5 separate regions of the Homo sapiens genome follow, and all the other regions are linked to region 2. The links are contacts of gene promoters, found by promoter capture Hi-C in blood cells and fetal thymus (Javierre and others, 2016). All regions are on one chromosome and are shown on one strand. Each heading gives the region's core, a stretch centred on a gene start or on the middle of the fragment in contact. The rest is flanking DNA. Distances are from core to core; before and after follow the strand shown. Region 1 overlaps NLK (nemo like kinase). Region 2 holds the start of LYRM9 (LYR motif containing 9). Region 3 overlaps NLK (nemo like kinase). Region 4 overlaps NLK (nemo like kinase). Region 5 overlaps NOS2 (nitric oxide synthase 2).

What was found. The method cuts DNA at HindIII sites, captures the fragments that hold promoters and counts their contacts. A CHiCAGO score of 5 or more calls a contact.
Region 1: a contact is called between a fragment that was not itself captured here and the fragment with the promoter of LYRM9 in region 2, in 6 of 17 cell types (megakaryocytes, M2 macrophages, M0 macrophages and 3 more). The highest score is 11.0, in megakaryocytes.
Region 3: a contact is called between a fragment that was not itself captured here and the fragment with the promoter of LYRM9 in region 2, in 2 of 17 cell types (megakaryocytes and M2 macrophages). The highest score is 10.8, in megakaryocytes.
Region 4: a fragment that was not itself captured here is called in contact with the fragment with the promoter of LYRM9 in region 2 in 2 of 17 cell types (megakaryocytes and M2 macrophages); the score reaches 6.4 in megakaryocytes.
Region 5: a fragment that was not itself captured here is called in contact with the fragment with the promoter of LYRM9 in region 2 in 5 of 17 cell types (naive CD4 T cells, naive B cells, monocytes and 2 more); the score reaches 5.9 in naive CD4 T cells.

What each region holds. Positions count from the first base shown.
Region 1 is chr17:28,120,923-28,126,870 of GRCh38, reverse strand. It overlaps NLK (nemo like kinase), which reads right to left. Exons shown (of 11, transcript NM_016231.5): 2 at 4,139-4,268. Among named protein-coding and RNA genes, the nearest start is that of NLK, 81 kb to the right of the region's middle. The HindIII fragment of the contact is 3,882 bases long and covers 520-4,401 here.
Region 2 is chr17:27,891,508-27,896,742 of GRCh38, reverse strand. LYRM9 (LYR motif containing 9) reads left to right here and starts at 3,378. Exons shown (of 4, transcript NM_001076680.3): 1 at 3,378-3,426. RefSeq lists a silencer at 3,197-3,746. The HindIII fragment of the contact is 2,313 bases long and covers 2,146-4,458 here.
Region 3 is chr17:28,074,572-28,079,812 of GRCh38, reverse strand. All of the region lies in intron 1 of NLK (nemo like kinase), which reads right to left. Among named protein-coding and RNA genes, the nearest start is that of NLK, 35 kb to the right of the region's middle. The HindIII fragment of the contact is 1,767 bases long and covers 1,753-3,519 here.
Region 4 is chr17:28,096,680-28,102,040 of GRCh38, reverse strand. All of the region lies in intron 1 of NLK (nemo like kinase), which reads right to left. Among named protein-coding and RNA genes, the nearest start is that of NLK, 57 kb to the right of the region's middle. The HindIII fragment of the contact is 4,375 bases long and covers 1-4,151 here.
Region 5 is chr17:27,758,219-27,764,092 of GRCh38, reverse strand. NOS2 (nitric oxide synthase 2) reads left to right here. Exons shown (of 27, transcript NM_000625.4): 21 at 1-112; 22 at 1,088-1,295; 23 at 2,862-2,949; 24 at 3,349-3,470; 25 at 3,915-4,063; 26 at 5,018-5,212. Among named protein-coding and RNA genes, the nearest start is that of NOS2, 39 kb to the left of the region's middle. The HindIII fragment of the contact is 7,852 bases long and covers 1-5,874 here.

The DNA.
Region 1 (5,948 bases), core at 1,211-3,710, 230 kb before region 2:
AATGCATAGATGGGTAGAGAGAAGATTCTGCCAGATTTTACAAAAGCTCAGATAGATACTAGTAATAAGCCTAAACACCAATTTTTAGAAAGCTAAACCCATTTCTGTTTCCCCAAGTTACTTCATCAAGGTGAATGTGTTAAGATGGTGAAGCAGGTACTCAGATGTGTGTGTGTATGTGTGTAAAAATTCAGTCAGGTCACCTGAAATCAATGAATTTGATACAGTGACTTTGAAGGTTCCTTTCAAAAGAAAATCCAAAGCCTCCCAGGCTTTGTTACTATTCTTTGACACATAAAAAGCCATCCAAATTAAAATCCAACCTTCCTACAATGACCAAGATCTTTCTAAATGCCATTTTTATCATGACATTCCTTTCTTCTTCAATCAAATCTTGTTCTCAAAAGGCTCATATTAAGATTTTCCTTCTCTGTGTTTGATGCATCTTTGAATTTCTAAGTCCACAACAATTTTTCTCTTTTCTTAATATTATGGTACTTGCCTGTCACCTGAGAAGCTTTAAAAAATCAGATACCTGGGCCTCAACTCCAGAGATTACAATTTAGTAGGTGCAAGGTAAGACCCATGAATCTGTGTTTTAAGGTCCCCCTCTCCAGGGAATCTTTGAATACATTTCTAGGTTTTGGTTGTCCAGCTCTTTGCTATGCACACAGCTGTCCTGGCTTAATGTTTAACCATGCAGGCAACCCTCCCACAGTGCTTTTATCATAGTAGTTATCACATTTTGAAAATTATTTCAACTATTTGAAGGTAAAGACAACAGGAGCTAATGTAGTTTAGGCATACAGGATGTGCATAATAAAAGTTTACTGAATTAATGAATATGGGCTCTACAGCAAGACAGATTTACAGTCCAATCTGTGCCACCTTAACCTTGGGCAAGTTACGTAACTCCAAGTCGTTGGTTCCTCCTCTACAAAGTAAGGTTAACAAGCCCTATCTGACACGATTTTTAAGGAGTAAATTAATTAATATATGTAAAGTATCTAGCATATCTCCTGACACAGAGCAATATTAAACATACCCCTTCAAAAAGAAAGTGTTTTAAGCCTTTATTGTATCCTCCACATGACCTAGCACCGCACTCCTTACATAGGACACAATAAATAAACATTTGCTGCCTTAACTAGATCAAATACCAGTTGCCTCTTAGACTGGCATTCCACACATAGTAGTTATGCTGGCCCTGAGATCCTTTTGGAAATAGATCTCAGAGATAGCAGAGATCTATTATATATAAAATAGTGGTGCTGTGCCATCTTCAACTATGTGCCTCACTTTTAAACACTTTCACAGATGTCACAGGCACTCTTCTATGATAGAGCTCAGTAGTTTCAAATAGTGGTTGTGTGTTGAGCAGGTTTATATGCATTAAAAAAATTTAATTTCTGCAACAATCATACACAGTTATTTCTGCTTTTACCATGCCTGCTTCGAAAATGAAAAAAACTTAAAGATTGGAGAAGTTAAGGTCCAAGACACAACAGTACAAAATAGTAGAACCACAATTCAAACCTAGTTCTGACTTTAAAGCACAGCTCTTAGAAACTGTATGAGAATTGCTTCTATGTTTTAATTGGTGTGATTTTCACAAATTCAGTTTATTTTTCTTACACTACTCCCTTTGACACTGTCTTTGTAACTTAATTAGTTACTAGGAATGAGTCATGAGCAAAAATACCAACTAGACAAACAGCAGCTTATTATACCACCCTTCCTTTATAGAAGAGGCCAAGATTGGTTGGAATATAGTAAGCCATTGACATCATTAGTAAGCAAATTTCTTTTTTGTCTTTTTTTTTTGAGGTGATATCTTGCTCTGTGCCCAGGCTGGAGTGCAGTGTCGTGATCTTGGCTCACTGCAACCTCTGCCTCCCAGGCTCAAGTGATCTCCCACCTCAGCCTCCTGAGTAGCTGGGACTATAGGCATGTGCCACCAAACCCAGCTAATTTTTTATTTTTTGTAGAGATGGGGTTTTGCAGCGTTGCCCAAGCTGGTCTTGAACTCCTGGACTCAAATGATCCAGCTGCCTTGGCCTCCCAAAGTGCTGGGATTACAAGCATGAGCTACTGCGCCCGGCCCCGAGTAAGCAAATTTCTGATGCCACCCTTGAAATATTTTTTCGTCATGGATACCTTTACTTGAGTCTCTGACAATGAAAGAAGGTCTGCACTCTTTGATGCTGAGGTGACACACTAAGGCAAGGTCAAGAAATAACTAAGAAAGAACTAGACATTATTCTAAATTATTTCTAAAATCTGAGGAACTGGTAGTAAAATAGTAACTCAAGTGGTATTTTGTTTTGTGTGTGTGGTTTTTTTTTAGAGATGGAGTCCTGCTCTGCACCCAGACTGAAGTGCAGTGGTTGATCATAACTCACTGCAACCTTGAACTCCTGGCTCAAGTGATCTTCCCACCTCAGCCTCCCAAATAGCTGAGACTACAGATGTGTGCCACCACACCCAGCTAATTTAAAAAACTTTCTTCTTTAGAGATGAGGTCTCGTTATGTTGTCCAGGCTGGTCTTGAACTCCTGGACTCAACTGATCCTACCACTTCAGCCTTCTGAGTAGCTAGGATTACAGATGCAGCCATTGTCCCTGGCTTCAAGTGGTATTTTGAAATGTATTAAAACAAGCATATTGCTAGGCAGTTCCAATTGACTAAAACACAGCAATGCCCTTTAAAAAAATTAAGGCAAGAGAATTTCAAGAGGAATAATCATTAAAATGAAATATGTCAAACCAAGGAGCTTCGAGTGAACCATATGGTAAGTTTAGTACTCCCAGTTTTAACAAATACCTCAAACTTTTCAAAATTTGCTTCTTAAAGTGAGACCAAACCTTTGGCCAAAGTTCTCGAGTTTTTTGTGCAAATAAGCACTCAGACTCATGAGAAATCATAATTTTTTTTCTGATAAGTTTTTATTATGGCAATTAAAATAGCATAGGTTGAGTATTATATAAAGAATTTGAGGCAGTTTTTCTTTTCACATGAAAATGAAAACATATTCTAATGCTGGCGACCTCCAGGTAAATTTTACATGTATCAAATTTTTAACTCAGGATTAATTGAAGGAAAGTTCTGTCAAAACACGAGTCTATTTGTCTATAAGTCTTCACATCTCTAAACATAGCCATAAATAAGGTAGCCTATGTTACCTTAAGGGATGTACTGTTTTTATAGGAGAAACTGTTTCCCACATCTCTAACTTAATCTCTGATTTAAAATATTGAGATAAAAATAAAGCACTTAAAATCAAGGGTCAATTATTTCCACTTAAATCACTCACTATATAAATCACTACACTCTATTTTTGTGTTGAATATTAGTATTATTCCTCGGCTAAATATCAATATTTGCTTTGCATCAATATTTACCTGTCAATCAATCAATCTTAGAATTCACTTGAATTCACTTACACTTGTTCATTGTTCAGTCACAAAAAGGGTCTAATTTGTCTCAGGTTTCCAAGCCCCTCAATAAAAACCTTGGTTGTGGTTTCTATTAATAACCTATTTCCCTACAAATATATGCTCCTTTTCTATGGGCTTTAAACATATTTAATAGCTTGTATTCTTAGAATTAAAAAAGACATTCAGATTGACAAATGAGAGTGCACACCACATTTCAGAAGCCAATGCGAAACTCAATAGGTTCAACGTTTCCTGATTTGGAGTTTAGGGCTTGTGCATGTCATACAATTCATAGTGTAATTTTCAAACCTTCAAATAAAATGCTGATAAAATGGACTCCCCAGGTGAGTCTAATATGTTAAGGTTGAAAACCACTAATCTCAATAGTGAAAATTTAAGACAGTCATAGAGAGACATAAAGAGTATATATAAAAGGAAAGCAAAGCACTGAAAGACTACAGCTTAGAAAACGTGTGTGTGTGTGCATCTCTTTCAATAAGAATGTATGAATTGAAAGCCTATCAATAGGTATTCTCCCATAACCTCACTGGTGCGCTTATTTCTTTTCACATTTGGCATAAAACTATAGCCAATTTCCAAATTTTACTTATAGGTGCCCTTTTAAACTTTCATCTGCTCTTTACTAATTCAATGCAGGAGGCTTAGGAAATAGTTTCCCCCAAATACCAATTTCACTTACATTATCATGCTTAAAAAAACACAACATCTTCAATTCCCGGAAGACCCTTTTGCAAGAGACCAGATTCTGGAAGACGTTGGGCATCTTTTTGAGCGCTACTCTCTTTCCATCTCTTGGATCTGTTACTGACCTAAAGAAGCAATATTTGGGGAAGGGGAAAAAAAAGACAGAGAAATCAGTTCCACACCTTGTTTTCCAATGTTTCAGATCATGACAATATCTTTATCTTAAAACACTCAACATTAAGTCCACTTAATGAAGCTTAAGGTGTCAGTGAGAAAGATAAAAGAGTACATATCTATAATTAAAGAGAATGTTTGGTCACCCAACTCATCTGCCATGCTTTAAAAAAAAAAAAATCCCTGTCTAAATTTCTATAAACACTTACTCTTTCAGAGAGGTCACTTTATACATCTGAGGTAGGAGAGGTATTAGTGGTAAAGCCATTTTAAAGATGGGAAAAAACATACAGAAGCAGCATAGATCATTAATTTGATAAAAGTCAAATTAGCTTTATGCTTTATTTTCAGAACTACATTTGAGAGGGAAGACATGTTCAAACACAATTTAAATATTTAGATTTCTTATGTATATGAACATCTTTTAGTAATATGGACTTCAATATAAGCAGCAGTTGAACACTGTCCCCTCCTTAGAAGTCTGGGTGCCAGCTTAGGGATCCCTGTAGCTCCCGAGTAATGATAACCTCATCCCTTTTATTTCCCAGCTCTTAGTGTGGTAGTTGCTTCTTGCAGTTACTATCTTTTTAATAACTGTGTCCCCCCACTCCCTTTTTTTTCTCTTTTTGCCTTCCAACACCTATATAACCAATTTCCTGTATTATATTTCCCTATGTTTGAAATAGGAGTGTGGTTTCTGTTTTTCTGACTGAACCCAGTTGATACATATTAACTAAATAGGTAAAAGAATGTCAGGCCAGGCTCAGTGGCTCATGCCTGTAATCCCAGCACTTTGGGAGGCCGAGGTGACTGGATCACCTGAGGCCAGGAGTTTGAGACCAGCCTGGCCAACATGGTGAAACCCCGTCTCTACCAAAAATACAAAATTTAGCCGGGCGTGGTGCATGTCTGTAATCCCAGCTACTTGGGAGGCTGAGGCACAAGAATTGCTTGAACCTGGAGGCGGAGGTTGCAGTTAGCCAAGATTTCTTGACTGCACTCCAGCCTGGGCAACAGAACGAGACTCTGTCTCAAAAAAAAAAAAAAAAAAAAAAAAAGAAAAGAAAGAAAAAAGAAATACCAATAAATTGAGTATACACGGCCAATTGGTCATTTGGCAAACTGACTTTCCATGAATTAACCTAGAGCTTTTTTTTTTTTTCCCCCCTTCTACCTATCATACTAAGATTGGTTGTTCTGGTAGAATTTATTCCTGTCCAATTTATTTAGCTAGATTCCTGCCTAACATTCTCAGCTATTATCGTTCAGCCCCTGTTCTGATCATCCAATGCTCTGAGTATTTATTCCTCCTAAATTTGTGTCATTTTAAAATTTGAGGCTAGGCTCAGTGGCTCATGCCTCTGTCCCCAGCACTTTCGGAGGCTGAGGCAGGAGGACTGCCTGAGACCAGGAGTTTGAGACCAGCCTGGGTAATACAGCAAGACTCTGCCTGTATTCAAAAAAAAGAAAAAAGAATTGATCCATGTGACATTAATGTCTCTTTCTAAGTTATTAATTAAAGTTTAGAACAGGACTGAGACTAGATCTCTGCAACAGATACAATACTAGAAATCATCAACGAGACTGACATTCAATCATTAACCTTGAGTATGGATATTCAATTACTCATT
Region 2 (5,235 bases), core at 2,129-4,628:
ATCATCCCTTTCTCTTGGGGACAGCATCAACAGGATAACTCCCTTCTACTTTTACTTATTCTCCACTTCCCTCCTTTTCACTTTCTTCTTTCTCTCCTTCTCCTCTTCACCCCTTTGTCTCTCCTCTTTCTTCAAATAATCCTATTTAATAAAGTTGATTATTTCTTACCGTCTCCATTCCTATTAATGGTGGCATGTAATTCTTGTCTCTGGACATCTCAAGACACTGCAGATATAGTCAGTGGAAACAGAATTACACTTTGTGAGCAAGGTAATTTTAAGTGGATCTTTAGTCAAATGCTGTCAAAATGCAAAAAAGAAGAATGTTCCCAAGCGCATTCACTCCTTTGGTAATATTGCCACATACACATCCAGCATGCACTTGAAATTTTTATGAAAAAGAAATTCCATTCCAAAGGTGATTCATACAAAACATTATGTGTATGTGTGTATGTTATTTACAATTTGAAATCATGAGACATAGAACATATTTTCAAGAGATAAAAAAAGTGGGGACATATTCAGAGATAACATACATCTGATCACCAATGTGGTTTCACATGTGGTCACTGTTAATAAATTACTACAGAACACACTAGAAACAGAGAATGACATATACCAGTCAGCAAAGTTGGATTTATGGTGCTGCAGAAAGTAACATAGTATGGAGGACCAGGAAGGCTGAAACCCAGCCCATAAATTAATCTCCAAGTGTATGTTGTAAATAGTCACAATTGTACCCTTTTTCCTCTTGTGTTCCCTTTTATAAAAATATTGAAATCCTTGCTCATCCCTTTCTTTTGCCCAGCAATTAAAGAAAAACAAACTAGATGTCTGAGATTTCACATAACCTTTCATACCCAATATTTTTATTGTCTTAAATCTTGAGTAGTCAGCAAGAGTTGTGTTTTGCAATACGCTGGGGTAAGGAAAATCTGTTCACCCCATTTTCCATTTTCGCCCCTGGTGTCCTCTTCTGGCATATTCACCCATCACCCCATGGCCCTCACCCTGTGTTCTGGCAGGATTTGAGACATGCAAATTGCAAGCTGGTAAATAGCAGCTTTGCATATTTTGAATAGAAGAGAACAACGTGGTACCACTCATTCTGTTCTCAGGGAAATCTGAGATAATAGGGAGCAAGATCGAGGGCAGACCGAGGGTCTTAAGTATTTTCTTAAAAGTGTTTATTATGCTTATTAAACCTATTGTACACTGATGAATTAATTTGAATTATTTACATGGTCACCCTTGGAGACAATAACCTGATTTAATCAGAGGATGCAAACGTTATCATTTCTCTTTGAAATCTAAAAACAGGTTTAAACTGGAAACGTCAGGACTTCTTGTATCTTTCCCTACAAATACTGGTTACAAATCTGCAGTTGTCAGGCTAAATGACATAATGTCAGAAATCAAGAGAATGTGGTGTATTTCTTAGGAAAGTCAATAAACTCCCCTGTGCGAACATGTCCCCTGGACAGTGGGTGACTAATTTCTCAAGTAAAAGGTCTTTCTATTTTGTTTATCTGTAAATATCATGCACTGTCTGACATAAGGGGGTTCATCTGCTAAAATTTCAGTGTATAGGAAAATGACATGGTAAAAATGGTTGGGGTTTTATCAGATTATGAGACTGGTGTCATTTTAAGTGAATGTTTGGACTAGTAAAAATTATTTCATTTTACTATTGAAGCTGTAAGAACCTAAGGTTGCTGTCAAGTTGAAAGGTTCAAATTCAATTATTTTCAAATCTAGGTTTCCATTGTGACTTGGAAAAAAAATTAGAGATTATTGTTCAAATCTCTCCTACTTTGGATTTTTTTTTCTTAGTATTTGGATGTTTATAAGAAATTGTTGTGAAAGTTAAAATCTTGTGCGTTTGTAAAATTGGAAGAGGCACAAGTGATTCTGAAGGTGGAGCCTTTCAGAGGTAAAGCAAACAGCTTGCATCTTCAATATTTTATGAGATCTAGGTATTAGAACCATGTTTCTGATGCAGGAATACAGCTATCTAGGAACAAAAGGGAGATGAGACTACAGAACAGACTGTGAAATTTCTTAAAATTATTAAATGATCCTAAGACTGAGCACAGGAGTGGATGATGTTACTGCAGATTGTTCTTAATAAGGGCTTTAAAAGCTTAATGATTTATTGATTGGCTCTGCATTAATGACGTGCCCTTGATTATGCATGTGTAAATAAGAGGGCTGATTTATGAGGGTACAATTGTATCTTTCAGATATATTTGTCCAAGTCTACATCTTTAAAATAAATGGAAGCAATTATCTGAATATTTCAAGGGAGGGAACCCCACCTTCCCATCCCCCACCCCCGATTTGAGGGAAGTCTAGTATGTTAGGTGAAGAGAAAAAAAAAGAAAAGAGGAAGCTCTAAAGGGAGTTAGGAACAAAACAAAACTTCCGTTAAGAAATATCCCTGCTTCTCTTATCCTAAGAGAAGAAAAACAGATTCCCAGGTGCCACCGGGGAGCAATGTTTTACTTAAAAAAAAAAAAAGAAAAAGGAAAAAGAAAAACCTGTAAGAAGTTGTCCTGTTAAATCAACGACACATGGAGTCTGAAGGAAATCAGCCTTTTCGTTACAAACAGGTTTAAAAAGCCCTGGAGAAGAGAGACGTGAACAGAAGCAATATTATCCACTAACAACCTAACTCCCGCTTAGACATCAGCTGAGAGATCAGCAGCATCATTGAACAGGGGGGTTTGTCTTAAGATAATGACTCATCTTGATTTCTTTCAGGATATAAAACTTGTATTTAAATCAATTCAGAGAAGCACTTGAGCTTTAAACATTAGAGAGCAGGGAGAGCCTATTTAATAAACAGCATTATTTCATTTTCAAAGAATGATACTGGCAGTAGCTCTAAGTTTAAATTTTGTATTATTTTCCTCAATTATAATTATAGATGGGTCTGAAAGGAAGCATGCTTATTACTGTCATATTTATTCTTTTGACAGGTGTTATGGGACTGTAATTTGGTGAAATGATTCAAAACGCAGATTCCTATCCAAACACAATTCTTGTCATCAACACGAGAGGTTCAGGAAAAGTCCTCCAGCAAGCCTTTCAGAGATCTTGAACACCCCATATTCATAGCACAATCCATATTCAGGAATAAGGAGGAGAGAGTGCCTTTAGGGCTTATATCCGGCGTAGCAACAGCCAGAAGGCAGAGTGGGTGTTTGAGGTAACAGGTAACGAAGGCTGTTAGTGGGGACAGCTTTCAACTGGGTGGGGTCGGATCTAGGAAGAGGCACCCAGTAGGACCCCGAGTCCCGCGCGCGGCCGGCAGAGGGCGCTGGGCTCACCGTCGCCGGGCAGGGGCGGTGCCGCTCAGTCCCCGGGGCGCAGGCGCACTCGTCGCCGCGGCGGCGTCCGGGGCTGGCGTTCCCCTGGAGGCTGGTGAGCCGCGCTGCGCAGGCCGAGGCCGAGGGCGGGGGCGCGGGGGCAGCGGCGGCCGGAGCCACTGGGTGGCGGGGGCGGGCTAGGGATGTGGAGGCCTCGGGTGTCCTCGGATCTATTGAAGACCTAGGGGCGACCCGCGCCGGCACCTTTTCCCTTGCGGTCTGCGCTCTTCCACCGGAGAGCTGAGTGCACCGGAGCGCGGCGCCCGGGCTTGACGCAGGCCTGGCCGGGCGGCCTCGGAGGAGCAGGAAAGGCCTGCAGCGCGAGCTAGGGGCGCGAGGTCCGGGGCAGCCCGGAGGCCAGCCTCTCAGAGGCTCACGGGCCTGGCCACTTTTAAAAGGAGAATGTCCCCTCCACCGTCCCTCTGCCCGCGGCACCCGGTGGCCGGAGCAACCTTGTCGTGATGATTTATGCTTCTGCGTAAGAGCAAGTTGCTCCGTGGCCAAAACCCTTTCGCTCCTAGGATTGATCCTTTTTGTGGTTATTGTTTTAAAAAGTTTTATTGAGATATAATTCACGAAGCATACAGTTCACCCATCTAAAGTGCACAATTCAGTGTCTTTTAGTGTGTTTGCAGAGTTGTGCAGCTGTCACCATAATGTTTTAGAACATTACCCCCCAAAAGAAACACCTCCTTTAGCTGTCACTCCCCCCTCCCATCTACTCCCATTCTCCCAGCCCTAGGCAACCACCAATGTACTTCTGTCTCTGTACTTTTGCCTATTCTGGATGTTTCGTATAAATGGAATCATACATTAAGTAGCCCCTTGTGACTGGGTTTGTTCACTTAGCGTAATGTTTTCTGGGTTCACCTGCCATAGGTTCTTGACTTCAGGACAGTTTCCTGCTGGCTTTAGTTTCCTCTGGTAACTTGGGAATCAATTGACATCTATGGAACTTCTGTTATGGTTCAGGTACTATAAACTGTGGAGGAGTGACTAATAACCGTATATATATTTTTCTTACTAATTTCCCTTCATTTCACAGGTGTTGAACTAATACAGTATAGTTTCTTGTTCTTCAGAAGCTTACAGTCAGCAAGGAACAGAAAGCCAAATAAAGTAGGAAAGGGTAAGATGTTCAACGCTGGGCGCAGTGGCTCATGCCCATAATCTCAGCACCGTAGGAGGCTGAGGAAAGAGGATCACTTGAGCCTAGAATTTTGAGACCAGCCTGGGCAACATAGTAAGACTTCGTTTCTATAAATAATTAAAAAAATTAGCCAGACGTGGTGGCGTGTGCCTGTGATCCCGGCCACTTGAGAGGCTGAGGTAGAATCGTTTGAGCCCGGGCAGTTGTGACTGCAGTGATCCCTGATCATGCTACTGTACTCCAGCCTGGGTGACAGAGTGAGACCCTGTCTCAGGACAAAAAAAAAAAAAAAAAGATGTTCAAGCACTTAAGATGTGCCAGCCCCTGTGCTAGGCACTTTCCATAAGTTAGCTAGGTTGGTCTTTACAAAACCCCTGTGAGGTGGGTTATTCTTTTCTCCAGTTTACAGTGGGGGAAGCAGAAGTCCAGAGAAGTCAACCAGGTTGGCCAGGATTACACAGCTAGTAGATAGCAGAGGTAGGCTTTTAAACTAGGGTTCTTTGTCTCCAAAACCTGCTCTAAGTTCTGTCACATCGATTATAATCACAATAAGTGATTACAGAGCAGTGTGATGACTGTAATAGGGGTGTGAACAGCATGGGATGAAAGCCTGAAGGAGGTGACAGGGAACTGGATCTCTAAGGATGAAGGGGAATTCTTGAGGCAGGTGAAGAAGTCAAGGTAGGGGAAAGCACAGCATGTTTCAGAGATGGT
Region 3 (5,241 bases), core at 1,387-3,886, 180 kb before region 2:
TTGCCCAGCAAAGGAAACAATCAACAGAGTGATAAGGCAACCTATAGAATGGGAAAAAATATTTGCAAATCATATATGTTTACTTCCTAGAATATACAAGGAACTCTGACAACTCAACAACAACAAAATAACCTGATTTTAAAAATGGGCAAAAGAGAAGATACACAAATGGCCAACAAGCATATGAAAAGATGCTCAACCTCACTAATCATCAGGAAAATGCAAATGAAAACCACAATGAGGTATTGCTAGGATGGCCACTATCAAAAATAGAATACAATAAAATAACATGTGCTGGCAAAAATGTGAAAATAATGGAACCCATGTATACTGCTGGTGCGAATATAAATGGTCCAGTTGCTATGGAAAACAGTATGAAGGCTCTTCAAAAACTTAAAAATAGGATTACCATATAATTCAGCAACCCTACTTATTGACATATATCCAAAAGAATTGAAGCCAGGATCTCAAAGAGATATTTGCATATCTGTTCATTACAGCAAGATTCACAAAAGCCAAGAGATGGAAACATCTGTCTATCAATGGATAAATAAAGAAAATACGGTATATACATACAACAAAATATTATTCAGCCTTAAAAAAGGAAATCCTGTCATATGCTACATCATAGATGAACATTGAGCATGTCATGCTAAGTGAAATATTCTAGTCACAAAAAGACAAATACTGCATGATTCCACTTATTTAGGTATCTAAAGTAGTCAAATGAATATAAATAGAGAGTAGACTGTGGTTTCCAGGAGCTGATAGGGAGGATGGGAAGTTGTTATTCAATGGGTAGTTTCAGTTTTGCAAGATGAAAAAGTTCTAGAGATCTGTTGCACAACAATGTGCATATAGTTAACACAACTATACTGTACATTTTTAAATGGTTACAATGGTCAATTTTATTTTAACAATAAAAAGAATCCATAAGAGTACAATAAATCTGAGAAGGGAGGCTAAGGTCTTTTTTTTAAGGGTCCTTTAATGCCTTGCTAGGACTACAGATGAACTTTATTCACAATTGAGAGAATGGGTGCTATAAACCATGGTTTATAAACCATGTAGTTTACAGAGAGAGTGCTATAAACCAAACTGACTACTCTGAGTCTGGCACTGTACTAGGCACACTACATGTATCATCTTATTTAATCTTCCAATAAGGCTGAAAATGAACACAAAGTAAAATGGAAAGTGGGTGAAACTGGCTATAAGGTGACTAACTACAATGAGAACACGTGTAGTAATCCTGGCAGAAAGAGATAACAATGACAGAATTTACTGGTGCCACAGATGGAATGACCCCCGACAAAGTCTTCAACAATTTCCTGGGCCAGGTTCAATATTGCTACCAAGAGGAAGACTGTGTGTGTGGCACAGGGGAGATAGGCAGGAACTCCGTACTTCCCAAATTTTGCTGTAAACCTAAAACTGACTTAAAAAATAAAATCTGTTAATTTTTTTTAATGGTAAAAGATCTAATTTATCATATAATCAAAAGAGGTTTATAGTCATTTTTACTTCAATGCTTGAAAAAAGGCATGTTATTTCAGGAAACCTTCTGATAATTAAATTTTAATTTCCTCCTACTGGATATGCAATGATCTAAACCCCCATTCAGCTGCCATTACAGAAAATAATCACATATGTTTTCTGGGAGAAAAAAATAATGTACAGTACTTTCTGGATTAAAGCAGTATACCATTTCATAATTTTAGCTGATTGAATGAGTAGAGGCATTTATAAGCTTCAATCGATAGCACTTTTTTTTTTATGAATTCTTTTTATTGGTGAAATAACAAATGCATACCTTAAGGAAGAACAACCTCTTAAGAATTGTTTCATATTTTCCTATAACTATAACATGCTTGAGAAAGAAGCAGAACTTTCTGTGCATCTATATATTTGTTAAAAAGAATTACTCTTTCTTCGAAACTTATGAGAGAGACCTATGATAGGAATTTAAAATAAGGTTAATACTATAAAAACATGAAAATCTATAGTTAGTTTATTATTTCCAGTATGAAAGAATTATAACACACCACTGGCAAAAGAAGCTAAAGTTTCCAAACATTTTCTTATTAATTCCCTCCATATTAATGCAAAGTTTAATATAATGGCATTCTCGGCATCAAACTGATCAAGATGCCTAATTTTATCTCCAGATTAATGTTTTGCATTAACTGATAGTATCAGATGCCTAATAGCCTTAGAAATTGTTTATAATTTAAGTATTCCAAGACAATTAATTCTCAGGAATGACTTTTATCCTCCAGGGCTGGTGATATGGTTTGGCTGTGTCCCCACCCAAATCTCATCTTGAATTCTACTCCCATAATTCCTACATGTTGTGGGAGGGACCCGGTGGGAGGTAATTTGAATCATGAGGGCAGTTTCCCCCATACTGTTCTCGTGGTAGTGAATAAGTCTCATGAGATCTGATGGTTTTATCAGGGGATTCTGCTTTTTTATCTTCCTCATTTTCTCTTGCCGCCACCATGTTAAGAGGTGCCTTTCGCCTCCCACCATGATTCTGAGGCCTTCCAAGCCACATGGAACTGCAAGTCCAATTAAACCTCTTTTTCTTCCCAGTCTCAAGCACGTCTTTATCAGCAATGTGAAAACGGACTAATACAGGTGGCAAACAAGGGAAGGAAAGAAGGCAGGGAAAGGAGGTTTGTACCTTGTCTAAGAAAGAGAAGTACAAAGCCAAAAAAAAAAAAAAAAAAAAAAAAAGAAAGAAAGAGAAGTACAAAGCAAAGAAAGGGAAAAAGTAAAAGGGACACGGGTACTAACTAAAGAAAACATCAATTTAAAAAAACCATGGCATGACACACAGCATTAAATTAGCAAATTTTACTTATATCAGACTGAATATAATTGTCAATCTTACAAGCTGCAATGTTACTTCAGAGGCAGAAGAAATAGGAAGAGAGGCAAAATATGGTAATACAAAAGTCCAATTACTACATTGCACTTAATTTGGTTAGATTAGGACAGATGTTTAAAAAACTGCATGAACCAATGATACTAACCCTCTCTACTCCACTTCTTTGTTTTTCACTGTTTTATAAACCATAGGTCCTCTTTTATTCACATACCAATTTAATACACAGATGCACAAAAATGGGGATACTCTTTTACCTTCTCCAGTCTCAGGAAAAATATCAAAATTTCTAACAGAAAAGTTAAAAGTACCTTTTCTGTTGGAAAACAGTACAGCTCTGTCACATTATTTCAGCTAATCAACAGGAACTGCTTTGGACTGAATGTGTGAGTCCCCTGAAAATTTGTATGTTGAAATCCTAATCACCAATATGATGGTATTAGGAAGTGGGACCTTGGGAGAGGTGATTATATCATGAAGGTGAAGCCCTCATGAATGGGATTAGTGCCGTTTATAAAAGAGGCCCCAAAGACCTGCCTTCTGCTTTCCATCAGATGAGAACACATTGAGAATGTATCATCTATGAACCAGGAAATGGGCCCTCACCAGCCACCAAATCTGCAGAAGCTTTGATCTTGGACTTCCTAGTCTCCAGAATTGTGAGAAATAAACTTTTGTTGTTTATAAGCTACCTAGTCTTTGGTATTTTGACAGTAACTCCATCTTTTAAAGTTATCCAAATTTTTAATTATCCTTTTCTTTAAAAATCTAGTGTCTCTAAATTAGAAGTAACTTGAAAGAGCTCACAATCCTTTTTAGCTCCAACACACTAAAGCCATCACAAATGTTGGCAAAGCAAAATTCGCCTTTCCTCAAAACAACTCACCTCATTTAAGACATATACAAAAAAAGGACAACAAAACTGGGCTTTTCACTTCACCATTTCAATGTGCTTTTTTCACTGTATGGGTAAATGTTTTTTAAAGATAGATTTTATCTGTTGACGTTTTTAGCTTTTATCTATATCCCACCCCATTCCAAAACAGACGGGAGGTAGCTAAGACAGAAGCATACAGTGTAAGATTAAAGGGTGCGGGAAGAGGAGGAATAAGGGTTTGAGGAAGGGGGAAAAAATGGGTAGGAAGCTTATGAAGTGGGGGTGAAGGGACCGAGAAAGTGGTCTGTACCCAAAACATAAGCTAAGAAACTCTACATCCCTTAACTGAGGAGGGTGCACATTTGACTCTGGGCTTTATAGTAGCCAAAGCAAAAGAAGAAAACTTAAGAACAGTTTTTAAGTTGAGGCACTTTTTACTCAAATGCCCAATTTTGTAAAATAAGTAAGTCTGAGAGCTCAATTGCTGTGTCAAAATTCCAAAGAGACTCAAGAATACAAAACAGAGATGAACCTGAGGCACAAACTGTACAGAGATGTTGTCTAAGCAATGCTAAGAAGTTGCCATACAAGTTGTTCTTGCCTAACAAATAATTTGCACATGCTTCAGGGAAATAGCCCCTCAAATCACAGGGGTAGAGAAAGGTTACTTTGATTTCCACCTAATGATTACTTGCCTTTGATTCAGAATTTGTGGCAACTGCAAACACAGCCTATCCAGTGGCAGACCTTTTACAAAAAGAAGTTGCTAGTTTCACACGAATCACCTTAGAGAGAGGTTTCTTTTGGAATAACATCAATCAGTTGTCCAAATCACCTGAATGCTGAGTCTGTTTCTGAATGTTTTTAAAAACTGATTTGTCTGCCAGATCACATAATGTAAACTAGCAGGCTAACACAGCCAATACTCCTTGTGAGCAATGTAAAATTATACCATATTTCATTAACTGTAAAATGCCACTAATGGTAAATGTGCCATTATTTTATGTACTAACAAAAATAAAAAGCAAACAATTGTAAGAAACATCCTAATTTTGGAGATGTTAAAATGAAAAGTGCATATTATAAAAACATTTACAAGTGAAATACGCCAGCTTGTTTCATCATGAGCCAGCTTGGTGTCCACCTCCCAACCTCGGGTGTTGGCACCTCCTCTTGCCTTCTTCTCTGACCTGTGCCTTCCCTCTATTGTTAAGTCATCCCAACCGCTACACTAGTTGCTTTCCTCACCTGTTTTTGCTCTCTACGAAGAATTCTTCTCACCTCCCTTTTTCATCCTACTGCTCTTTTCCCATCTATATATCTTCAAATATGTGAAAAGATGCTAGGCAAAAGAAACACATATTTATAAAATCAGCTTTGCCAATGGACACCTAAAGGCCCTTAGATCTCTTTTCGTAAAAAAATAATAAAAAACTGCAGGACAAATATATAATGGCCACGAAATAATTATGTA
Region 4 (5,361 bases), core at 715-3,214, 210 kb before region 2:
CTGTCTATAAGTGATACACTTTAAACAAAAGATACAGATAGGTTAAAAGTAAATAAATGAAAAAGAATATAGCATGTAAGCATAAGGCAGCTAAAATGGTTATATTAGAATCAGATAAAATAAATCTCAAGATAAAATTTATACAAGAAATAGAGACATTTTATACCTATATAAGGACAATTTATCAGGGAAACATAGCAATTGTAAAAGTGCATGTACACTGGGTCCCTAGCCAATAGGGAAAAAAATAAGTAAACAAGTAAATAAATAAATGGCATATGAATGAGAAAGGAAAAACTCAAAACGTCCTGACTGACAGATGATAAAATCATACATGCAGTAAATCCTAAGAAACATACAAAGAGCTACTAGAACTAATAAATGAAAGCAGCAAAGTTCCAGGGTATGAGGTCAATCTACAAAACTCAACTGCATCTCTACATACTAGCTTTGAATAATTAGAAGATAAAGATGAATAAAAACCCCAACTCTGTTTACAAAAGAAGCACACACAAAAAAAATACTCACAAATAAATTTAATGAAAGATGTGCAAGACTTGTACACTGAGAAATACAAAACATTGCAAAGAGAAATTGGTGACAACCTAAATAAAGAGAAATATACCATGCCCATGGATTCATGTTCATGGCTTAAAAGACTTACTGTTCAAATGGCAAACCTCCCAAAATTATCTTTAGATTCTATGCAATTCCAATCAAAATCCTGCAGGCTTTTTTGAAGAAAGCAACAGCTGATTAAAAAATTTGTATGTAAAGACAAAGGACCTAGAATAGGTAAAACAAATTTGAAGAACAATGTTGAATGATTTATACTACTTGATTTCAACATTATAAAGCTACAGAAATCAATATGTGGTGGTACTGGCATAATGATAGACATAGAGGTCAATAAAACAGAACACAAAGTCCAAAAACAGACCTATGCTTATATGTCAAGTAATTTTCAACAAAGGCCAAGGTAATTCAACAGAACAAAAGATAGCTTTTTAAACCAATGGTGATGGAATAATAGGATATCCACATGGAGAAAAATGACTCATGACCTTTACTCTCACACTATACACAACTTCAACGTTGGCCAGATTTCTATTATTAAAAGAAAAATAATTCATCGTTTCTACCCTCTTTTACCCCACCTTGGACATATAAGGCTACCCTTTCAGGACTAAATTTAAAAGGTAAAACTGATTAAACTTTCAGGGAAAAAAGTCATTTGGATAAAATGTTTGCGACTTTGGGTTAGGTAAAGATTTCTAGAACACAAAGATGCAAAAACTATGAAAGTAAAAAAATAGATGAAATGAACTTCATAAGATAAAAACATTTTGCTCTTCAAAATACACTGTTAAGAAAATGAAAAGGCAAGCCACCAAATGGGAGACACTATTTTAAAACACCTACATGACAAAGGGCTTGTATCCAGAATAAATAATCCAATTAAAACTGAGGGAAGGTCTCCACACTTTATGCAGATGGCTAATAAGCTCATAAAAGTATGCTCAACAATCACTAGTCAGAAAAATGCAAATTAAAACCACAGTAAGATTCTACTACACAGCCACTGGTATGGCTGAAGTTTTAAAAGACTGACATATTTAGCACTAATCATACTATATTGTAATTATGGCCAAGTTTCTCTATTCCAATAAAACATGAGCTCGTGGTTTTAAAAAAGTCTGAAAATAATAAGTGGTCATGAGGATTTGGAGAAAATCCTCATTTGCTGGTATGAATGCAAAGTGTACAGACACTTTGGAAAGCAGTATGGTGGTATCTTATAAAGTTAAATATATACTTACCATGTGAATTAGAAATTCCATTCCTAAGTATTTACCCAAGAGCAATGTAAAAAGAGCTATGTAATGTAAAATGTAAAATCTAAAATGAGCAATGTAAAAGAGCAATGTAAAAAAGAGGTATTTACCCAAGAGCTATGTAAAAACTTGCACACAAATGTTCACAATTGTGTGATTCATAAAAGCCAAAACTTTGGCACAATCCAGATGCTAATCAAGTGATGAACACACAAATAAATGTTGGTACATCCATAGCAAAGAACACAACTCAATAATATAAAACAAATGAAATATTAATAAAACATGGATGGATCTCAAAACATTATGCTAAGTAAAAAAAAGTCAAGGCCGGGCGCGGTGGCTCACGCCTGTAATCCCAGCACTTTGGGAGGCCGAGGCGGGTGGATCATGAGGTCAGGAGATCGAGACCATCCTGGCTAACAAGGTGAAACCCCGTCTCTACTAAAAATACAAAAAATTAGCCGGGCGCGGTGGCGGGCGCCTGTAGTCCCAGCTACTCGGGAGGCTGAGGCAGGAGAATGGCGTGAACCCGGGAAGCGGAGCTTGCAGTGAGCCGAGATTGCGCCACTGCAGTCCGCAGTCCGGCCTGGGCGACAGAGCAAGACTCCGTCTCAAAAAAAAAAAAAAAAAAAAAGTCAAACACAAAAGACTATTTACAATATGACTCCATTTATTTGAAAATATAAATGTCTACAAAATGACTTTTGTCAAGACAAAACTATAGTGACAGAAACTAGACCAATGGTTGCCTGGGGCTGCAGATGAGAGGGGACCAGTTGCAAAGAAACAGGAAGAAACTTTTTAGGGTGAAAGACCTGTTCAACGTTCTGATTGTGGTGGGGGTTCCGTGATCGTATATAATTACCAAAATAAAACTGTACTGTGTACAAAATTCACAGATAGGTGAATTTTGTTGTATGTAAACAAAATCTTAATTTTAAAAAAGGAACACAAAATCAGAAAACAAAAGAAATAGTACTCCACTGCACTAATAAAAGAAACAAAATTGAAACTGAGATATTATTTTTTTCTCATAGACTTGGCAAGAATTACACTAGTGATGAAAGGTGTTAATTAGTACATTTCTGGAGAGTATTTTGGCGTTGTATTATCGAAACCCTTAAAAAATGGGTGGACCTTTTTGTCCCAAAATTCTACTTCTGGAAATGTTTACTACAGAAACAATCAGACAAAATAAGCCTGTACAAGAATGGTAATGAAAGCCAGGCACGGTGGCTCACACCTGTAATCCCAGCACTTTGGGAAGCAGAGGTAGGTGAATCACCTGAGGTCGGGAGTTCAAGACCAGCCTGACCAACATGCAGAAACCCCGTCTCTACTAAAAATAAAAAATTAGCCGAGCGTCGTGGCGCATGTCTGTAATCGCAGCTACTCAGGAGGCTAAGGCAGGAAAATCACTTGAACCCGGGAGGCGGAGGGTGTGGTGAGCCGAGATGGCGCCATTGCACTCCAGCCTGGGCAACAAGAGCAAAAATCCATCTCAAAAAAAAAAAAAAAAAAAAAAAAGAATGGTAATGAAAAACTTTTCATAGTTGTGAAAAATAACTGGGAAAAAACTTGTATGCCCAACAATAGGTGATTGGTTAAATAATGAAATATCCATCCAATTAAAATGATGTGGCCAATAATATACATGCACCCTTATTGATGAATAAAGACGTACTCAATGTCAGTTTTCTTCCCCTTTCCTGAATTTTATGCTGGTACCTTTGACAAAAATGTTTACTTTCTACTTGGAAGAGTTATAGTACAAATAAGTGAGTAATAACTATCATAACAGATTTCTATTATTAGAAGAAAAATAATTCATAATTTCTACTCTCTTTTACTCCACCTTGGGTATATGAGGCTACCCGTTCTGCCTAATTCTTATGACAATTTTTTAAACAATTACCTTTGGACTTCAATCATTGTTATCACAAAAGATCTAACATGAGCAACTATATCATTTCAAGAGAGCTGATTCACAAATTGAATCAGTTATTTTAATTGTTTACTTACAGTTTGCCCTGTGGTAGATAAAGAAGTAACAGAAGGTTCTAGTGTACACTTCGTAGGTTTATATTATCTGGGTCTCAGTTCCCTTATCTATAAAAAGAAAAGGGCACAGTGCTGGATCTGGTTATTTGTAGTTCTAAGGAAGATTAATCTATTAATAACCAGTCGACACCTTAAAAAATTACAGAAGTGGCAAATGCAAAGTGCCAAGAAACAAACTTTTGTCAACTAGGTTACCCTGTAAACATTCACTTAAAGAAAAAAATGAAAAGGAACAGGATCCTTATTAAAGCTTGGTGAATTTAAACCCACACTGTAACGTAAAATGGAAATTCAATTTGTCAAGGAGACTAACAAAGGCAGGAATCACAACTGAAAAGTGATATATCCTCAATGGTTTCCTAGTTGCTAAAACTTAGAGTCAATCATCTTAATTGAAGACACTGAAAATGTACAAGTATCTGTCATTATAATCATATCAACAGTAGGTAAGATGCCTTATACTACTATAACAACTATAGGTAATTTCAAACAGAAAAAAAGCAATATACTTTAAATTATTTAGGGTAAATAATTTATTGTGCCTGCTTTAAAATAACGTTTCCCAATCCAACTAGGTTCAGATATTCAAACTGAGTAAGGATAATTTATTTATAAAACTGAAATACAACTTGGGTTCACAAGGACCATGCCTAACCAATTTTTCCTGCAACTCAGCATTATGTAATTCAAAGAAGAGAATAAATATATGTAAGTTTGACTGCAGAAAAAGGAAATTTGAATTTTACTTGTATAATGCCAAGTCAAAGAAACCAAGTTAAATACAGATATCCACACAAGAAATGAAACTCATTTATTAAACCTTCTTAATAAAAGTAACAATTACAGTTAGAAGCATGGCCAATTCTTAATAACATTAGTATAATTTAAAAATTTCTATAATCAAAAAGTAAGTATTTTGTTATTTGAACATTTTTTAATGTTGCCTTCAGAGGTTATACAATAAAAATAACTTATAATATGCATCTTGTACCTTGGTGTCTCATTTTTAAGTTATATCCCAAACAAAACTGAAATATAAGCAAATGGCTCAAGCAAAGTTTCATTAGATGGAAAAAGAATAAAACTTACTCTCATTAAGTCTGGCTAGAGGTGGTGGTGATGGGATGTTGTACTGTAACATAAATGACACAGCTGGATAACACAAAGCATGAAAACAAGGGAAAGGCTCCATCCTATCACTGTTTAGACCCTTCAGTGTCCCACTTATGCATGCTACAAGGCAACTACTGGAAGAAGAATACACCTCTTATTTTCGAGCAGAAAGGAAGCAATTCTCTATCTGCCAGTAGTAAGGGATTTCTTCTTAAACTGTTTCTCTGACACCAGTGATTTGTAACAGTAGATTTTTATTAGGGACTTATTTATTGAAGAAAATTAAGATGTTGAAAAATTCTTTTTCCTGTTCTCTCTGCTGTTTGGAAATAGATGGGGGAGTGGGAAA
Region 5 (5,874 bases), core at 1,367-3,866, 130 kb after region 2:
CCTCACCTACTTCCTGGACATCACCACACCCCCAACCCAGCTGCTGCTCCAAAAGCTGGCCCAGGTGGCCACAGAAGAGCCTGAGAGACAGAGGCTGGAGGCCCTGTGCCAGGTGAAGATCAGGGCTGGTGGGCAGTGGGGGTATGTGGGGGGTCCCAGCATGTGGGGAGCCAGAGTCCAGAGCTGGTTTTAACTTTCAAGAGGGATCCACACCAGGTTCCCAAAGTGAGACTTGTCAAAGGCTGGTGGGAAGCCAGGCATCGTCCGCTGGCCCATGTCTAGGACACAGTTGTGTTGAGTGAACTGAATTTTTCCAAGTGTCTGCAGGATGCAACCAGAGTGCACTGCCTTGAACATTAGCTAGAAAGGGGAGCCGCCCTTATCCGTCTTTGCTTTCCCCAAAACTGGAATAAACTTGTCACTTAAGATGTATTGGGGGATGGATGATGTGGATGAATGGATAAATGGGCATAATGGGCAGAGTGACAGATGGAGAGCTGAATTAATAAGTTAATGAGAGAATGCGTTAACTCACCTGCAACTGTCTGGTTCCAAGTCTTTGCAAAAGGCACTGGTTGTCATTATTATCATCATCATTATAGCTAATTATCTCAATTTAAGCTACCTCCACCGCCATTATTTTGTGGCTGCAATGTACTAACTTGGCACATGCTTTCTCATTTAATTCCCATAACATCCCCACAAGACAGGCAATACTGTCCTTGTTTCACAAAGGGTAATTGGGACAAGATTCCACAGCTAGTGAGGACACCCAGCCAAGATTTGAACCCAGGTCTGATTGGTTCCAAAGCCTTGCCCCAAATAAATTACAATAAAGATTTGACCCCTGCCCATGAGTTGCCGACAGTGGAGGTAACACAAGTTAGATAAATGTACTGGACTGAGTTCCTCCAGGACAGGCACTTATTTTGTCTCAAGTTTGGTCGTCTCAGCACCATGGACAGTGCCTGGCACATGGACTTGTTTGTTGAGTGAGTGAATGAATGAATGAATACTGGGTTGTGACAGTCTTTTCCCCAAAGCGGGACAGGCGCCCTGAGTCACTGACATCACCCTTGGCTTTTAGCCCTCAGAGTACAGCAAGTGGAAGTTCACCAACAGCCCCACATTCCTGGAGGTGCTAGAGGAGTTCCCGTCCCTGCGGGTGTCTGCTGGCTTCCTGCTTTCCCAGCTCCCCATTCTGAAGCCCAGGTTCTACTCCATCAGCTCCTCCCGGGATCACACGCCCACAGAGATCCACCTGACTGTGGCCGTGGTCACCTACCACACCCGAGGTGAGCCAGGGGCAGAGGCTCTGGAACAGCCCCGCTCCGCCCATTATTGGACATCTGTTCATCAACTCAGATTCAGCTCCCTCATCAGTTCAAGGAGGGAGGGAACACCCACAGCCCAGAGTTGTTAACAGTATTAGGAGGTGTGTGGGAGAGATCTCTAGGAACCAGGCACTAAACCAAGCCTTCTGTATGTATATGATCAGTTACATTGTGGGGTAGGCACTGTGTGCATTTTACAGGTGGCACAGAAAGTCACACTGTTAGTAAGTGGAGAGCTGAGATTCAGACCTGGATAGTCTAACTGCTGAGTCCAAGTCCTCCACCACTCCACTGTCCCACTACTCTTGGGACAATTTAATGAGATCAGATGTGAAGAGCACTCAACCCTTGGTAGGAGGCCAGTGGTTCTTAGTCTTCCCAATCATGCAGCCTGAACGCAGGGGAGATTCTGCATTGATTATTCATTCACTCACTCAGCTATTCAGTGGGTGCCTGGCACTGGGGTGGGTATGGAAATACAACAGAGATCAGCCCTGCCCTCAGGGAGCATCTAGAGGCGGCAGTGGAGAGATAGGCATAGAAATAATTAGATGATTTTCATTGTGCTGAAGCCAAGAAGGAAAGGTCAGGGTCACTGAGGGAAGCAGAGCAGGGGGTGACGCTGCCATAGAGCGGGAGGCCAACATCTCGTCCAGGTGGTCTCGGCTCCACCACTGGCCGCTGCCCCCTGCCCTGCCCTCTGTAACTGAGCATTGCCTGGGTTGGCAAAGCTGGGAGCTGCCCACACTTCCGAGCCCTCTGTCCTCAAGAAGCAAAAACACAGTTTCTAAAACCTTGGCAGAGACTCTATTTGCCCTGCTAGAGAACAGCCACCCAGACCAGGAGAGGAGAGGCAGACGTGTCCTGTGAGATCAAAGTTTAATCCCGAGGAAAACCAGGGGGACCTCTGCAGTTGGTTGGAGGCCTTCCTCAAGTGCTGGGCCATTGTAAAGGGAACACAACCCAGAGAGACCTCCTGGGTTTCTACAAGCCCAGGAGGGCCCACTGAGGAGGAAAGCAAGGTGCCAGAGCAGGCTGAAATGCGCGGAACTCATCCACCACCCAGGGTTGCTACCAGCAAGGGCCACGCTCATGAGCACGCACAGCAGTAGCCACCCTGAGGGGCCACTTCATGCTGCTGTCAGTGGAGCTCAGTGGTGAGCTGGGAGTGTTCCCGGAGAAAGTCTTTGGAAGGAGCACTGGAGTAGGAGTCAGGGAAGCTGAGCTGTCCACCTGATTCCACCACGACCTGAGTGACCTTTTTCAAGTCACTTTTCCTCTCCCCGTCTCAGTTTCTGCTTGGGCAGAAGGAGCAACTTGCAGCCTCTCTAAGTCCCTTTCAACGTTCCTCAGCTCCGCGCTTACAGAGGGTGGATCTCAGAACCAGGAGGACAAACAGCTGCTCATTGAGTCCTGAGAGTGCCTGAGTGGGGGCGTCCAAGGAGGGCCGTGGTGTGGGCGGAGCAGCTGGTACAGTTTGCGCATGGGCAGTGGGGGGACGTTGGTCACTTTGTGGTATCGTTGCAGATGGCCAGGGTCCCCTGCACCACGGCGTCTGCAGCACATGGCTCAACAGCCTGAAGCCCCAAGACCCAGTGCCCTGCTTTGTGCGGAAGTAAGCACCCCTTCCACTCTGTCCCCTGTGGGGCCGCCGACCCCTGGGAGTTCCGGGAGGAAAGGGAGGGATCTGGGGTTTAGGAGACGCTCGGAGCCCCTTGGCCCATAAAGAAGGCACTGGGGTCACACTGGTGTGGCTGCCTGTAGCAGGGACAGCGATGACAGGTGGGTCTCAAGAGTCCAGTGAGCTTGGCCCTTTTACAGAAGGACCTGGGGGAGGTGCTGGTGCCTGGACAGAAGTGAAGCAGCCTGCAGGACGTGGGAAATCAAATAGGAGCTTCTTGTCCTCTCCACCCCCTCACGACCGCCTCCCACAGGCCCAGCTCCCCAGCCATCCTGTGTGTGCGTGGGCCTGGGGTGTCTGAGGACTGGCCCCCTCTTCTCCTGTCCTCTTCAGTGCCAGCGGCTTCCACCTCCCCGAGGATCCCTCCCATCCTTGCATCCTCATCGGGCCTGGCACAGGCATCGCGCCCTTCCGCAGTTTCTGGCAGCAACGGCTCCATGACTCCCAGCACAAGGGTAAGGCTGGAGGCTTCCCAGGTGGGAGGGGCACCAGGGGGCCAGCGCCTGCCTAGGAGCAGAACTGCAGCCCCACAAACGGTTCCTGACCTCTCTCGAGGGAAGGCCTCCCAAGTTTGCTTCCCTGTGCGGGCCTCTGCGGGTTAGAATGGCTGCCTTTCCGTCTCCCGCATAGTAGCCAGGGCTCCCTCTCCTGGGAGTGGAGGTAACAGGAAAGTCCCTGCTTTTGATCTCCGATTGGCTGAGGGAATTCTGCATCCGCACTTTCAGTTCTGTGACTATGGATGAGTGATCTGAATGCGCTGGGCCTCAGTTTCCTCATCTGTAAAGTGGGGATAATGCTATTAAATAGCTAGTGGGAGTGAAGTGAGAATTCCAGTTGGGCTTGGAGCCCTGGCGCCCTCTGGTGGCCAACATGGTAACAACAGCCCGGGACTCCTGCAGGAGTGCGGGGAGGCCGCATGACCTTGGTGTTTGGGTGCCGCCGCCCAGATGAGGACCACATCTACCAGGAGGAGATGCTGGAGATGGCCCAGAAGGGGGTGCTGCATGCGGTGCACACAGCCTATTCCCGCCTGCCTGGCAAGCCCAAGGTAAATGCAGCCTCAAAGCAGGTGAAGCATTACACACACAAGCTCCACTGTGAGCCCTGGGTCCCCACAGGCCCCTCGCCTCCCCGAGCCTTCACCTCCTGAGCTCGAAAATGCTGGTAATTCACAACCATCAGAGTGATGCTGTGAAGAGCATTACACCCTCTCATACAGCAGAAGCGACAGACCTGGAGAGGTTCAGGACTAACCTAGGTCACACGCGGGTTAACCCCAGAGCCCAGCCTGCTGAAGGTCCCCAGCAGGCCCCCTGGGACACGCGACTGCCCGGGGAGAGGTGGTCCAGGCTGGCTACGCTCAAGCCTTGCAAGGCTGGAGGGCGGCCGATGCTTCCACCACGGCCATCAGAGGGGCTCTTCTGTCCCCAGGGCCGCGTTACCCCCTGAGCCTGGGGTGTCAGAATAGACTCTCGGCCTTCACACATTTGTCCCATCAGGGCACCTCTTGGGCCCAGTGCTCTGTGCCCAGTGCTGGGGCCACTGGGCATCCTGTGTGGAGCAGGAGCAGAGAGTCCCTGACTGACTCCTGGACCTTGTATCTGGGGAGCCCGGGATCCATACCCTGCAGAGACCTAATGGGTAGACTGCATTGAGAGGCTCCCTTTTCTGGGGTGTAGGCAGAGCCCTGGGCAGGGGGACTGCCTTCATTGATGCCTTTTTGAAGCATGGCAAATTCAGAGACAGTCTGGGATCCCCACTGGATGGTCAGCCCCTCGAGGGCAGGACTGTGTCCAGCATTTATCTCTCTAATCCCAGCCGAGCCCCAGGGGCATCCATGCACCTCATCCTGAGCCTGGCCCCTTGCAAGGTCCTGGCTGGAAGGGGACTCACTCCTCACCCCTTAGTGCCCCTCTCCCCGCCTCCTTGAGGCCAGCAGGCCTGCCTGCAAGCCTTGTCCTGAGCAGCTGAGGACTGAACCCACTGTTTCCTCTGGTTTCAGGTCTATGTTCAGGACATCCTGCGGCAGCAGCTGGCCAGCGAGGTGCTCCGTGTGCTCCACAAGGAGCCAGGCCACCTCTATGTTTGCGGGGATGTGCGCATGGCCCGGGACGTGGCCCACACCCTGAAGCAGCTGGTGGCTGCCAAGCTGAAATTGAATGAGGAGCAGGTCGAGGACTATTTCTTTCAGCTCAAGGTATAGTAGTGGGTGTGTGGGCTGAAGGTGCCGGCCAAGGGCACAGGCCGTTGGAGCCAGGACCAGGGGTGGCAGGTAGACCCAGGGGAATCAGGCCCAGAAAGGTTCTGGACCCCAAGAGAATCTTAGCAGTGGCTGAGATCTGAGCTGGGTGGGCTGTCAGATGGCCTTACTGCACATCCTGGACCAGTTGGCAGCTTTGAGAAGTCGGGTGAATGTGTTCCATTTTTCCATCTGTAGAATGGGGGCAGGAGAGTCTCCCTGGCCTCTCCCCAAACCCCCCTTTCAGAAAGTATCTGTGTGGCCAAAGCAAGGCTGTGAACACAGGGGAGAGCAAGGCTGCCCCCCGTCAGCCTCGTGTGAACCTCACACTTCTTATTTACACCCAGGCTGGTGTCTGCTCACCCTCATCCCCCCAGCAGGAAGGGCTTGCATTTTATTGATGAAGATAATAGTGATATTTATCAAGGGCTTACACTGGGCATACTGCTTGCCAAGGATTCTCATGTGACATTTCATTCAGTCCTGCCGAGGACTTTATGAGGGAGGCACCCCCTTTTACAGAGGGAAGGGGGCCTACGGGGACCACAGCAGTAAATGTGAGAGCCTAGAGTTCAGTCTGCCTCTCTCTGGTTCCAAAGCCTGTGATTGTCACTTCCATA